Linked DNA regions of Homo sapiens: region 1 is linked to region 2. Evidence: promoter capture Hi-C in 16 types of primary human blood cells and fetal thymus (Javierre and others, 2016). All regions are on one chromosome and are shown on one strand. The core of a region is centred on a gene start or on the middle of the fragment in contact, and the rest is flanking DNA. Distances in the headings are between cores, read along the strand shown.

What was found. The method cuts DNA at HindIII sites, captures the fragments that hold promoters and counts their contacts. A CHiCAGO score of 5 or more calls a contact.
Region 1: a contact is called between a fragment that was not itself captured here and the fragment with the promoter of ESRP1 in region 2, in 1 of 17 cell types (neutrophils). The highest score is 5.7, in neutrophils.

The regions. Positions count from the first base shown.
Region 1 is chr8:95,285,187-95,288,708 of GRCh38, reverse strand. The region is part of intron 1 of CFAP418-AS1 (CFAP418 antisense RNA 1); the gene reads right to left. Among named protein-coding and RNA genes, the nearest start is that of TRS-AGA2-5, 17 kb to the right of the region's middle. The HindIII fragment of the contact is 5,016 bases long and covers 1-3,522 here.
Region 2 is chr8:94,639,570-94,643,454 of GRCh38, reverse strand. ESRP1 (epithelial splicing regulatory protein 1) reads right to left here and starts at 2,281. Exons shown (of 16, transcript NM_017697.4): 1 at 2,005-2,281; 2 at 1,371-1,499; 3 at 39-152. The coding sequence starts at 2,136. RefSeq lists an enhancer at 854-943. The HindIII fragment of the contact is 2,119 bases long and covers 339-2,457 here.

The sequences.
Region 1 (3,522 bases), core at 743-3,242, 650 kb before region 2:
AGGCGGGAGGATCATTTGAGGCCAGGAATTGGAGACCAGACTGGGGAAGATGGTGAAATCCTGTCTCCACAAAAAATTTAAAAATTAGCCAGACAAGCCATATGCAGAAAACTGAAACCGGACCCCTTCCTTATATGTTATACAAAAATTAACTCAAGATGGATTAAAGACTTAAATGTAAGACCTAAAACCATAAAAACCCTAGAGGAAAACCTAGGCAATACTATTCAGGACAGAAGCATGGGCAAAGACTTCATGACTAAAACACCAAAAGCAATGGCAACAAAAGCCAAAATTGACAAATGGGATCCAATTAAACTAAAGAGCTTCCACACAGCAAAAGAAAGTATCATCAGAGTGAACAGGCAACCTACAGAATGGGGGAAACTTTTTGCAATCTACCCATCTGACAAAGGGCTAATATCCAGAATCTACAAAGAACTCAAACAAATTTACAAGAAAAAAAAACAAACAACCCCATCAAAAAGTGGACAAAGGATACGAACAGACACTTCTCAAAAGAAGACATTTATGTGGCCAACAAACATATGAAAAAAAGCTCATCATCACTCGTCATTAGAGAAATGCAAATCAAAACCACAATGAGATACCATCTCACACCAGTTAGAATGGCAATCATTAAAAAGTCAGGAAACAACAGATGCTGGAGAGGATGTGGAGAAATAGGAACACTTTTACACTGTTGGTGGGAATATAAATTAGTTCAACCATTTGTGGAAGACAGTGTGGCAATTCCTCAAGGATCTAGAAACAGAAATACCATTTGACCCGGCAATCCCATTACTGTGTATATACCCAAAGGATTATAAATCATTCTACTATAAAGACACAGGCACACGTATGTTTATTGCAGTACTATTCACAATAGCAAAGACTGGAACCAACCCATAATGCCCATCAATGATAGACTGGATAAAGAAAATGTGGCACATATATACCATGGAATACTATGCAGCCATAAAAAAGGATGAGTTCATGTCCTTTGTAGGGACATGGATGAAGCTGGAAACCATCATTCTCAGCAAACACAGAAACAGAAAACCAAACACCGTATGTTCTCACTAATAAGTGGGAGTTGAACAAGCAGAAAACATGGACACAGGGAGGGGAACATCACACACCGGGGCCAGTTGGGGGTGGGGGGCTAGGGGAGGGATAGCATTAGGAGAAATATCTAATGTAGATAACGGGTTGATGCATGCAGTAAACCACCATGGCACGTGTACACCTATGTAACAAACCTGCACATTCTGCACATGTATCCCAGAACTTAAAGTATAATAAATTAAAATAAAATAAAATAAAACATTAGCCAGACATGGTGGTGTGCACCTGTAATCCCAGCTACTCAGGAGGCTGAGGTGGGAGGATCCCTTGGGCCCAGGAGATCGAAGCCGCAGTGAGCTATATTGTGCCACTGAACTCCAGCCTGGGCAAGAGAGTTTTTTATTTTTTTCTCAAAATAAATAAATTAGATTATCTAAAAGTATTTTGTAAACTAGAGACAACTTATACAAATGAGAGCTTTTCTCCAAAATCACAATGTTTCAACTAACCTAGGTAGAAGGGATTTTTTAGGAAAAATCCTCAACTGTTGTAAGCCTCACCTTCTCTTTGTTGGGACATACTTGCCCTCTCTCTTGGCTCTGGAGCAGGGATTGCATTCTGTACAACACCTAGTGCATTATCAACACTTAATAAATGCAGAATAATGTGATAACTAACAAATTGCCACCAGATGTTCTTAAGGCTTTGCAACCTTCAGGTGAAACTGCACAAAATAATAGTTTAATTATTACAACATCCCTGTCAGTAATGATGAGTGTCTGTCTGTTTTAAGGCTGAAACCTCAAGTTAGGCTGCTGCTATAGTGTTTAAGACTAAATGCTCAAATATGGTCCCCAAAGGCAGATCTTGGGAACAGCTAATAATCAGCTTCTCTATACATCACCATGTTGAATTATTTTACTCAAAAACAAAGCTCAACATTCCAAATCAATATGTCAAAAAAAGTTTCTGGCTGAAATGAAGTTTCAAGAAGACGACAAGTACTATCAGCAGAGGCAGACAAGAAACAAAAAGCATTATCTGTAAGAGGTTAATGAGACGGTAGGATGGCAAGGCTGCTTGGAAGAACTCAAAGGAATTGCCTCCTCCAAAGGACATCAGGAAAGGAACTGGATCCTTCCATTCTCAGAAAATGTTTCTCTTCTCCAGTGGGGTCTCAACCCTGGTGTAGATTGGAATCACCTTGAAAGGTTTTTGGTATTTGGGGCTTTCTTTTAGCATCATGTCCCTGAACCCCACTCTAAACAGTTAAATCAGAATTTCTTGGAGAGGAACTTAAACTGTAGATACTGGACCAACATCATGAACACCACCTAGGAACTTGTAAGAAATACAGAATCTCAAGCCCCACTCAAGACCTATTTAATCAGGATTTGCATTGTCACAAATCCCCAGGTGATTCTTGTGCCCATTATAGTTGGAGAAATGCAAGAATCTTATTTTTTCTCACATAACAGTTCCAGGGTAGCAGTTCAGGGTAACAGGGAAGCCCTGCTCCACATGGTCTTTCAGGTACCAAGGTTCCTTCCTTTGTGCTGCTCATCATCCTCCAGGACATTGCTCACATCTGCCTGGTCAAAACTGGATTACTATGGGGTTCCAACCAGTAGCAGTGGAGGAGAGCATGGAGGAGATCCTTTTATTGCCCTGAGGCCCACACCGAGAAATGCCACACAGTATATCTGCTCTGAATGTGGTCACAGGAACACATCTAATGCAAAGTAGGCTGTGAAATGAAGTCTCGTTACAGGCCTAGAAAGAAAGAGAAAACAATTTTGGTAGACAAAGAACAGTCTCCATGCCAGACACACAGTGCCCAATAAATGATGGCTATTATTATTAACCAGGATGTATACTTCACCAGCTTAGAGTACAAATAGTGTTTCACTTATTTTTCTAGTGACTTGCTGAGGCCCAAGGACCTTACCAACAGAAAATCTGGTATTCCTTTCTTGGGGCCTTTCCCAATACTCTATCTCCAGACGATCCAACATTCTAGGGCCTTTCTCACTTCTAAAGGGTCAATTACACTTCCAAATGCCAGGTGGGAGAAATAACTAGAAAGTTCTATGAACCCACCAGCACCATTGCTTTGGTAGTTACCTCATAGGCATACTAAACACTGGTCTCGCTAGCCCAATGGCCAGTCATCCTTGTTTTGGAAATGTCCTTGCTGCTCACAGGTCACAGTCATGTCTTCACTTGTATTTTTAGGTCATTGCACTTGCTCAGTTGTCATTCCTCAGTGAAACTGTGCCCAGCTGGCTTGGTGTGGAGGTTCATCCCTCAGCCAACTACTAGAAGGAACTATCCTTCCCCATGAGATGCTGACCAAGTACCAATGTTGAATTCAGATCACCAAACCGGACATGCCCATGGTGAACTCCAATCTAGCCCCGTTAGTGTTCTTTCCAACAAACTTCAGTCCAGTTC
Region 2 (3,885 bases), core at 1,032-3,531:
GCTCCAACCATTTTTTTCCCAGAAGCCAGCACTCTTACCTTCTTGGAAGCCTCAGGATGCAGGATTTGCCTGACATGAAGCTGCCCATCAGTACAGAGACAGAAGGAAGTCCCTACTCCAATATTCAGTTCATTGCTCACTGACTGGTTAAACTGCAAGAACAAGATACACATAGGGATGCAACTGATGCACGATTTACAAACTCTGCAAAGTAGCTCCCCTTGGTGATAGCCAGAGAAAACCGCAATAAGGGCCCTGATGGGTGACACCGGTGCTGGGGCAACCTTGGACAGACTCCTTTCCCACGAACCGTCTAGCTTCCTCGAGGTAGGGAAGCTTTCCAATCAATCCGCAGTTCGCGCCCAGGAGAAACTTGTCAATGCATTCTCCCTTCTGTTTTTACAAAAAAAATTCATTCAAGACTTAAGTCAGATGTCTCATTTCATCAGCAGGTTGCCTGCAGATTACATCATTCCCTAGTGTTACTTTTTATATGTTTGGATGTGCCAGGCTTAAGAAAGATGCCAGCTTCTAATAAACAAATACGGGTATTGGGTATACAGATCTGGAAAGTCTTGGATGAATACACCCCAGGAAGGATAGCTTTCTCCTATAACTCGAAGCTCGTGTGCTAGGGCAGAGGTCGTGAGAACGCAGAGCATTCATCTGTGCACAGGTGTTTAGCGCCCCGCCCTACCCGATCCGGCACCCGTCAGCACCCCGGAACAGCCGGTTTTTAGGTCACCTCAGTCCTAATAAGGGGATTCCATCAGTTCCGCAGTGACACAACGGGCAGCCTTGCACGTTCGGACCTGAAAAACCTCCCTGGCAGTGGGACCAAGGCCACTAAAGAAATAATGACGGACCGAGCCTTTCGTTGGGAGTTCAGAAGCCTGAAACCAGGCAGGCACCTTCAGGTTCCAACCCACAGTGCTACTTCTTGCACACCCGCCGGGCCCACCTGCACGTCTACGCCACAGCGCCCCCTGCCCGAAGGCTGTGGGCCCAAACCCCGCAGGGGAGCGGCGCGTCTGGGGTCTGGACCTGGAGATGGGGGCGCTAGGATTCAAACTCCGCACGTCAATCAATTGGCAAAATGGAGCTGACTCTCCGGCTCCAGTAACTACTCAGGAAGCAACTCGAAAACTAGTGAATGTCGGTCCCAAACCCTGGGGGCTGGGAGATGAAGAGAAGCAGCGACCCCCGCCCAAACGGTGCGCCCCGGCCCTCAGGCTGGGCTCCCACCCACGCGGCCGGGCAGGCGTCTCGCCACCCTGCTCCGGGAACACGCGTGGGCCGCCCTGAGAGGGCGTAGGGTGCGGTGGGGTTGGGCCCAGGCTGGGGTGGGTGGCGTGACCCGGGGTTGTCACCTGTCGGAGGGCTTGGTCCAGCTGCGACGCCGAGGACAGGCTTTCGACGTCTATTTTAGTTTCTTCTTTGCAGTCCTCCGTCAGTTCCAACTGATCCGGTCTAACTAGCACTTCGTGCAACTGTCCCACCTCCGAAGGTAGAGAAGCACGGGTCAGTTTCCCCCAATTTCGGAGCCTCTTTCTGCACCCTCCTCCCTCGCTCCCCTGCTGGGGCGGCCCGCGCCTCTCTTGGGGTCCGGACGCAGAATCAAAGCTCTCGACTCGCCATCGGTTCCGGTGCGTTCCTGCCCCCCGCCCCACCCCCCACCCGATAGGTCGGAAAAGCCCTGGAAGTGGACCCCGGGGCCTCCGAGACCCCACCTCGTCTCGGCGGAGCGTCCCCCGACGGGCAAAGAACCCGGCTCGGTAGCGCCGGCCTCTCCACCTGAGCTAAGTTGCGGAGGACTGAAATGGCTCCAAGGCAGTTGGCCAATAAGTTTGGTTTTACTCTAGCTTCCCTAGGCCTCGGGTCCAGACTCACAAGTGGGCAAACAAGAGCACTTATTTACTTACCTCCACCCCCCTCCCCGCCCAAACCTCTACCACAAACTTCTTGCCCCATTCCTTGCATTTAGACGAAAATGTGGAGAAATACCTTCTTGTTGGCCAGATCCACGACTTTCCAGAACAGCAGGATCAACTCCTTCTCATCCGAGCCTAGCTTGGCCCCGGTGGCCCCAGCAGTGATCCCAAAAAGCACCACCAAGTAATCCGGAGAGGCCGTCATGACGATAGGTGGGGAGGGGGAGAGGGGGGGTCGGGAGGCGGTAAGGTGGTGTGGAAGTGAGAACGAAAAAACCTGTGCTAAACCCTCTTCTAAGAGAAAAAGAAAGAGCGCCCACCCCCCTTCCTTGCTACTGCTAGTGCAAAAGGCGGTAACCAACCACCCAAGCCCACACCTGGTCGGTGCTCCACGCCCAGGGCAGGAAGGGGGGTGGGAAGGAGGGCGCAGGAGGCCTGCCCTTTTTGTATTCAGTTGCCCGGGCGTCTATGCAAAAAGCCTGGAGCAAGGCTGCCCCCCCCGGGAGGCACGCAATGGCTGAAAGCTTTTCTGTTTTGGGATGTGGCTTTACCTGCCCGCCCCTTCCCCCTCCCCCACGTGGTGCAGGTAAGAGACACCTGGCGGCGCCGGCCCATTGGCTCCTTCAAACCACGACGTGGCAGCGGTGGGGGAGGAGGCCGCTTCGGGAGGGGGAGGAAGGGGCGGGAGACAATGGCTGGATGAATGGAGAGGCGAGGGCAGGGGAGGAGGAGGGGGAGACGTGAGGGGCAGGGAAGAGGCGGTTGACACCCAGAGGGTAGACGAGGCCAGACGGGGAAAGGGCTCAGAGAGGTAAAGGGCTCGGAGTCGCTGGGGGGAGGGGTTCCCACTGGAGGTAACTGAGAGGTGCAGGGGGGCTCGGAGAATACCGGCTGCAGGGAACGAAGCCGAAGGTTCTGAACGGTCAAGCGAAAAGGCCAGGTGCAGGGAGGCGAAAGGAGGCCAGAGGTGAGGCCCGGGGCGCGGAGCTGCCCAGGGCGCGGCGCAGGCGGAGGACGAACTGCTGAGGGAGGGACCTGCCAACCGCAGCCAGGAGGTGGCGGGGGCAACTGCAGATCCCCGGAAAAGCAGCTCCTGAGCCAACACAACTTTCAGTGCAAACAGCAGGAGAAATCCTGCGAGCCCCCCCTTCTCCGGGCCGGAGCCCGGGTGCACGCTCGTCCCAAACCCGCCGCGCTGCCCACCTTCCGGAGAGGAACCCCGCGCGCGGCAGAGCCGGACGCCAGGGGCTGGACGCCCAACCACCTAGTCACTCCCCAGGACGCAGTTATCGCGCGCAAAGCAGCTGGGGGACCCCGCAAGGAAACTCAGGCACAATGGAGCCCGCTTCTTTTTCTGTCAACTCTGAATGCTATGTCTGGTTTGGTCCTGGCTGCTAGTTCGAAGCTGGAACATCCTCCAGAGCTGGGGCCCATTTCCTTTTATTTGCCTTGGGCCCCAAATGAAAAGCATCTATCCGCATGCCTAATAAAAATTTTCTTAAATCGGGCCACGCAGGCTTTTTCCCAGGTTCTGCGCCCTGACCCCATTCCCTCTGCTCATGCTTTTGGCATTGTATTGGAGTGTGTTGACTTGACCAAGCTCCCAAACAACCTCCCTGCTCCACCTCAGCTTGGTCTGCCCAGAGGCTCGTACCCCAACCATCACCCCCCAGCCACCAGATCGGTGGCAGTATGTTGTTGGGTCTTGTTGACATTTTAGAGAGAAAAGCGCCAGAGGTGAAGTTTTCTCGGGTTTTATATCTCAAAGCGATTTGTTCTTGGGAACAGAATTCTGTCTGAAGTATTAATAATTCGGCTCTAGGTGTCCAGCCCCGTTCATATTCATGATGTGAAACGGGCAACCATGCACCTATCCCTGCAGAACCCACTCCGGGTACAAATCCGGTAACCTTTCAAGACGCGTGTCAAGGGAAGCTGGAGACCTGGCTTTCCC